2 separate regions of the Homo sapiens genome follow, and region 2 is linked to region 1. The links are contacts of gene promoters, found by promoter capture Hi-C in human tissues and cell types (Jung and others, 2019). All regions are on one chromosome and are shown on one strand. Each heading gives the region's core, a stretch centred on a gene start or on the middle of the fragment in contact. The rest is flanking DNA. Distances are from core to core; before and after follow the strand shown. Region 1 holds the start of CDH1 (cadherin 1). Region 2 overlaps ZFP90 (ZFP90 zinc finger protein).

Region 1 (3,439 bases), core at 415-2,914:
AAAAAAAAAAAAAAAAAAAGCTTTTATATCTGTAAACAAAAGCCACAGCCCAGTAACCAAGAGAGGGCTGCTCTTCAGTCATCCCAGAGATGGTGCTTAATGGGGCCTGGGAGTCAGATCCCAGTTCAGATATCTGCTCTGCTGACCCTGAGCAAGTGGACGTCACTCTCTTAGCCTCGGTTTGCTCAACTGTAAAACGGGAATACTCCTGCCAGGCCTTCCCACCCACCAGGTTTTTGCAGTCTGAAATGAGAGACTGTCTCTACAGTGCTGAGGGCAATAAGAGAAATACGAAGGCTTCTAGTAAGTGCCCTCAACCTCCTCTTCTTTATAACATAGTCAACAACCAGGCAGGGTTACCCCCTCCACCACAGTGTTCAGTCGTAAACGTTTGGATCCCCAAATCTGCGTAAATTCCAAGGGGTGTCGTTTGAGCCAAGGAGGGAGCTTGCCCATTGCAACCCAGGGGTGTGGGAGTGCAATTTCTCGGCCCCTTTCCAACCCCTCCCTACTCCGCCCAGGGACACCGGCAGCGCGCCCTCACCTCTGCCCAGGACGCGGCCTCTCTCCAGGTGGCGCCGGGGCACCGTGAACGTGTAGCTCTCGGCGTCAAAGCCAGGGTGGCAGGGCTCCGGCTCCTGGCAGAGCCAAGAGGAGACCTGGGGTGGGGGAAAGGTAGATGGAACCGGGTGACTCGGAGGGTTCCCTCCTGCTCACCGAAACCAACAGCGCCGCCCCTCCCTCGCTCCCGGCGTCGGGATTGGGGGAGGACCCCAGCCCGCAGCCCCGGGACGGGCGGGCAGCGACGTCACCCTCCCCCACCCCGAAACCTACGGCCGCCGAGCCCCCAGGAACTCCCGGGAGGGGGCCGCCGAGTCACCCCCTCAAGACCTAGCCCACCGTTCCCTTTCAGTCTCCTTTCTCATTTTATTGGAGATGTCTTTATTCTCCAGTACCCCACTTTCCTTAGACCGGGAATGCACCACTCCTCAGAGCGAGGGGCGCTCCCACCTCCTCCGACCTCACTTTCTTATCCCCGGGACCCTCACTCCTATTTACGACCTTTCTTGGCATGGCAGGTGCCTTTATTTCTACGGATGCCCCTCTCCTTCCCTCGAAGATCGTCCCCACGACTCCTGGCTCCCCCTCGACTTGCACCAGGGCACCCCTTCTCCACACCCCACCCCCTACACCCCGCTTCACGCCCCCACCGCCCGCGCGAGCCCACCCCGCGGACTCCGCGGCCAGACGCCCCCGCCTCGGTCTGCGCTGGAGGGGGCAGGAAAGCCGCGCTCGCCCCTCACCACCCACCCCCCACTCCCATCACTGGGGGGTCCGGAGCGCGCGAGGCTTCCAGGCCGCTCCGCTCCTCAGGACCCGAACTTTCTTGGAAGAAGGGAAGCGGTGACGACGGGAGAGGAAGGGGCGCAGGGCTGGGGCGCGGAGCTTGCGGCCCGAATGCGTCCCTCGCAAGTCAGGGGATCCGGGGTACCTGCAGCAGCAGCAGCAGCGCCGAGAGGCTGCGGCTCCAAGGGCCCATGGCTGGCCGGGGACGCCGAGCGAGGGCAGGCGCCGGGTGCGGTCGGGTCGGGCCGGGCTGGAGCGGGCTGGAGTCTGAACTGACTTCCGCAAGCTCACAGGTGCTTTGCAGTTCCGACGCCACTGAGAGGGGGTGCGTGGCTGCAGCCAGGTGAGCCCCGGAGGCACCGCCCCCCGTACCGCTGATTGGCTGAGGGTTCACCTGCCGGCCACAGCCAATCAGCAGCGCGGACCCCTCCCCAGGGCGGAGCTGACGGCCCGCCCACCCGGCCTCGCATAGACGCGGTGACCCTCTAGCCTGGAGTTGCTAGGGTCTAGGTGGGTTATGGGACCTGCACGGTTCTGATTCCACTGGGTTCGAATCCCAGCCCCGCCGGTGGCTCACTAAGACCTGGGATCAGAAAGGGCTTTTACACTTGGCTGAGTTCTTTTGTTTTTTGGGATTTTTTGTTTGTTCGTTTTGGAGATGGGGTCTCACTCTTTCACCCAAGCTGGAGTGCAGTGGTGCGATCACAGCTCACTGCAGCCTCGAACTCCTGGGCTCAAGCGGTCCTCTGGCCCCAGCCTCTCTAGTAGCTGGGAGTACAGGTGCACACCACCACGCCAGGCTAATTTTTTTTTCTTTTGCCTTTTTGTAGAGAGACAAGTCGGGGCGGACAGGGGCAGTGGGGGCGCTGTGTCTCCCTGTATTGCCCAGCCTGGTCTCGAACTCCTGGGCTGAAGCGATCCTCCTGCCTTGGCCTCCCAAAGTGCTAGGATTTCAGGTGTGAGCCATGAGCCACTGAGCTAGCAGCCTAATTTTTTGTTTGTTTGTTTTGTTTGTATTTTTTGAGACGGAGTCTCGCTCTGTCTTGCCCAGGCTGGAGTGCAGTGGCACGATCTCGGCTCACTGCAACCTCCGCCTGCCGGGTTCAAGAGACTCTCCTGTCTCAGCCTATTGAGTAGCTGGGACTACAGGCGTGTGCCACCACACCGGCTAATTTTGTATTTTTAGTACAGACGGGGTTTCACCATGTTGGCCAGGCTGGTCTGGAACTCCTGACCTCAGGTGATCCACCCTCTTCAGCCTCCTGAAGTGTTGGATTACAGGCGTGAGCCACTGCACTCTGCCTCGAGCGGCCTAATTTTTTAAAAAATTTTTCTAGAGAGGGGATCTCACTATGTTGCCGAGGCTGATCTCAAATTTCTGAACTCAGGCGATCCTCCTGCCTCAGCCCCTTTACTGAGTTCTCATTTTTTAATCTAGTCTTTTTTAACTGTAGAGCTTCATGGGTTAGTGAGTCAGCAAATTGATTCCCTAGGTCAGGACCACCTCCCAAAGCCTCAGTTTCTCCACCCTCCTAATGGGAATAATGATCAGAAATGTCTCCCTATGCTGTTGTGGGACTCCCATACAATTAAAATGACAAATGTTTCTTGAGCCATAAATGCTCTGTACAGAAGTGAGGGGTAAAAATAGTAACAATAGGGCCAGGCATGGTGGCTCACGCCTGTAATCCCAGCACTTTGGGAGGCCGAGGCGGGCAGATCACGAGGTCAGGAGATTGAGACCATCCTGGCTAACGCAGTGAAACCCCGTCTCTACTAAAAATACAAAAAATTAGCCAGGCGTGGTGGTGGGCGCCTGTAGTCCCAGCTACTCGGGAGGCTGAGGCAGGAGAATGGCATGAACCTGGGAGGTGGAGCTTGCAGTGAGCCGAGATCGCGCCACTGTACTCCAGCCTGGGCGACAGAGCAAGACTCTGTCTCAAAAAAAAAAAAAAAAAAAAAATAGTAACAATAGGTGCTGGACATTGAAGATTACTGTGCCAGTCTCTGTGCTAAGCATTTGACACTGACCAGCTCTTTTTTTTTTGAGACGGAGTCCTGCTCTGTCGCCCAGGCTGGAGTGCAATGGTGT
Region 2 (3,439 bases), core at 644-3,143, 170 kb after region 1:
GCGAAGTGCTGCAGAGGTTAAAGAGAGAAGTCATAAAATAGCAACTTAAAAGAGTGGGACAATGACTGGATAGGAAAACAAATGCTGGAGGATAGCATACAAGAAAAGTGGGACTAATCAGCTGGGCGCACTGGCTCACGCCTGTAATCCCAGCACTTTGGGAGGCCGACACAGGCAGATCATGAGGTCAGGAGTTCAAGACTAGCCTGACCAACATGGTGAAACCCCATCTCTACTAAAAATACAAAAAATAGCTGGGCATGGTGGTACGTGCCTGTAGTCCCAGCTACTCAGGAGGCTGAGGCAGGAGAATTGCTTCAACCTGGTAGGCGGAAGTTGCAGTGAGTTGAGATCATGCCACTGCACTCCAGCTTGGGTGACAGAGTGAGACTCCATCTCAAAAAAAAAAAAAAAAAAGTGGGACTAATTGTCATAGTTGTTTTTCTTCAGCCACATTTAGCTGGATGGATATAGGAGTGGAATAGGCAGCTCTAGGCTCTTCTTTATTGTTTCGCCAGATGCTCTGGTTCCTTCATTTAAAAACTGTATGTTAAATTATAAGAATATGCCATGATTGACTGGGCACAGTGGCTCACACCTGTAATCCCAGCACTTTGGGAGGCCAAGGAAATGGATCACTTGAGGCCAGGAGTTCGAAACCAGCCTGGCCAACATAGCGAAAACTCATCTCTACTAAAAATACAAAAATTAGTCGGGTGTGGTGGTGCACACCTGTGGTCCCAGCTACTTGGGATGCTGAAACATGAGAATCACTTGAACCTGGGAGGTGGAGGCTGCAGTGAGCTGAGATCGTACTGCTGCACTCCAGCCTGGGTGACAAGGCAAGACCCTGTCTCAAAAAGAATATGCCATGACTTATTGTTAACCTATTCACTTCCCAGTATTTCTGTTGTGTTCATATTTTTACTCTTTAAAACACTGCCTCAATAAACATCTTTGTGTGTGTCTCTTTTCCTCACAAGGGAGAATTTCTAGTCTAGGATATGTATCTCCTAGTGGTATTGCTGAGACATGAGATATGCTTAGCTTTGATTTTACTGGATATTGCCAAATTACTCCCCAAAATAATTATACCAAGTTACCCTCTTGCCAGCAGTGTATAAAAGTTCTAATTCCCCTCTGCCAGATTTCTCAATTTTTGCCAGCCTAATTGGTAGGAAACAGTATTACATTGTTTTATTTTGCAATATTCTGACTTCAAGATTGAGCATCTTTTCATTTACCTACCAGTCTTCTTTGTCTAGCAATCAATCTCCACTCAATTGCTCACTTAAAACACTATATCACTATATTAAGTATCTACCATATGCCTGGCATTAATTAGCAGGGTAATAAAAAGAGCTATCAAAACAGACATGGACTCTTGCCTTCCTGGAACTCACCATCTAGTGTAGGAAAAAGAAAACCAAATAATCACAAATACAAACTGTGGTAACATGGAGGACATTAACAGTAATCCATGAAAATTTTTAAAAGGGAGACCAATGTAATTGAAATAGGAGAGTCAGCAAAACCTTTCCTGAAGCACCATTTGCATTTTAACAGATGAGTAGGAATTAACCACCTTAGTATTTTTAAAAAGTGCTCAATCTTGAAGTCAGAATACTGCAAAGTGAAAAGCCTACTGCAGCTATTAAAAAAACCAAGCATCACCACCATCAATATGCCTAAAAGTGCAGAAGTCTTTTCTCATCTTCCATGGAGGTGCGCTAGATGCTCTGGCAGGTAAAAGTATATCATACATATTTTAGGTTTCTTTAATGCAAGCAACAAACATAAAAAATTAGCTTGAGCAAAAAGGAGAAACTGTTGGACTGATGGGGAGCTTCCTGAATCCCAAGGAGAGCTTCAGAAATTGAGCCAGGTCTAAGGACATCAGGAAATAGAAACAAGAACACCATCATGTCAACCTTGTCCTCTCCTACTTCCCATCTCTGGTAAGAAATCAGGTTCCAGGAAGCTCTAGGCCTTTATCTTTTGGCCTAGCAACACAAAAGCCCAAAGTAGGGCTCCTTCCAGCTCTACTTGGAAAAAATTCTGGCAAAGGACTCTGATTAGCTGAACTAGGTCTCATGCCTGCCCCTAAAACTATCAGTGAGCCCCAGGGACATCCTGATTTAGGTTCCTACAGTCAATACAATCAGATTGTTGCAAGAGGAAAAGGGGGAAAATGCTGGGCAAAGACAAGAACTACCACCACACCGCTAACCAGAAGTTATAAGGATTGAATGACAGATGTGAAACACCTAGCACAATGTCTTTAAAGTAGTAAGCATTCAATAAATGGTAGCTATTAACTCACCTGGCTGTGATGAGTTTAGCAGTTAATTCCTCCCTCTTGGTGCACCACTCTTTAATCTTAGCCAAGTTCTGAAAATTGAAAACGACAAACTGACTCCCATTCAACTCAGAAGGCTATTTATTGAAAGAATACAATGATGTTACAAGGATGCATTTCACGTAGCCCTAAAAGGCTGGGTATCCATAAGTGCATGGTTCATGGCTGTTGGGACTAAGAAAGCCTTCTGGTCAATGAGCCACACATATGTCCTGGGCTCCCTCCCTGTCAATGAAGATGTGCTGAGTTTCAGAGTGGTGGCTGGATCTAGGCCAAGCACCAAACACAAACCAGTACTCTCCTTTGGGTCTTCTGGAACTAAGGTTTTATAAACTTCCGTAACAGTGGGGGCAGCACTCAGTTGGTTACAATTCATGCCATTCCTGAAAGTAGTCCACTATGGGGATCCCCAAACAACCAGTAGCATAATGAGTTCCTGACAGGCATCCTAGCCAATCAGTAGGGAGGGTCTGAGTAGAATTACCCATTGTCAAACTATGTATCAGATAATAGAAGCACAGCCTTGGCATTGTGTGTGAGCTAATCATGGTGCACCATAAACAAGGTGTTTTGGATGGTCAGCATCTCAGAAGGGCAGATCTGCCATTGAATATTCCATTTTGCATCACAGAGGAGAGACTAATTGAGCTACACATATTACATTTCAGCCCCCATGCACAATTTTTTCCCTGCAAAGAATGAAGAATACTTGGGTGCTGCTGCATGCCATCCATGATGAGAGAAAGGCAATGAATCCTGCTATGTGGCATGCAAAGAATCCAGTAGGAAAGGTTCACCATCAATACGACCAATATCTTGCCCCATGATTCATATTTAGGGCTGGGAAAATTTATCTATCTTTGGGAGGCAGCTCTTGTGTAAAAGGAATCAATGTCCAGTTGTGCCCAAATTGGTCTGCATGGTCAATGTCAACACACCAACAAAGGTTCTGGAAGTTCCTTTAGGATAGCCCATGGGAGTCATTAGGGGATGGAGCAGGCCACTGAAGCTTAGCTGATGCTTTACTAATAGAAAAGCATTATACAACTAAAATAAATTGATGTGTGTGTGTCTTGCTCT

Evidence for each region. The method cuts DNA at HindIII sites, captures the fragments that hold promoters and counts their contacts. A contact is called where the count stands out against the background at its distance.
Region 2: a contact is called between a fragment that was not itself captured here and the fragment with the promoter of CDH1 in region 1, in 2 of the 25 tissues and cell types used here (adrenal gland and liver).

Annotation. Positions count from the first base shown.
Region 1 is chr16:68,735,517-68,738,955 of GRCh38, reverse strand. It overlaps CDH1 (cadherin 1), which reads right to left and starts at 1,664. Exons shown (of 16, transcript NM_004360.5): 1 at 1,493-1,664; 2 at 545-659. The coding sequence starts at 1,540. RefSeq lists a silencer at 1,549-1,618, a cis regulatory region at 2,571 and an enhancer at 2,499-2,643. The HindIII fragment of the contact is 7,364 bases long and covers 1-3,439 here.
Region 2 is chr16:68,566,115-68,569,553 of GRCh38, reverse strand. It overlaps ZFP90 (ZFP90 zinc finger protein), which reads right to left. Exons shown (of 5, transcript NM_001305203.2): 5 at 2,423-3,439. Among named protein-coding and RNA genes, the nearest start is that of ZFP90, 29 kb to the right of the region's middle. The HindIII fragment of the contact is 4,837 bases long and covers 1-3,439 here.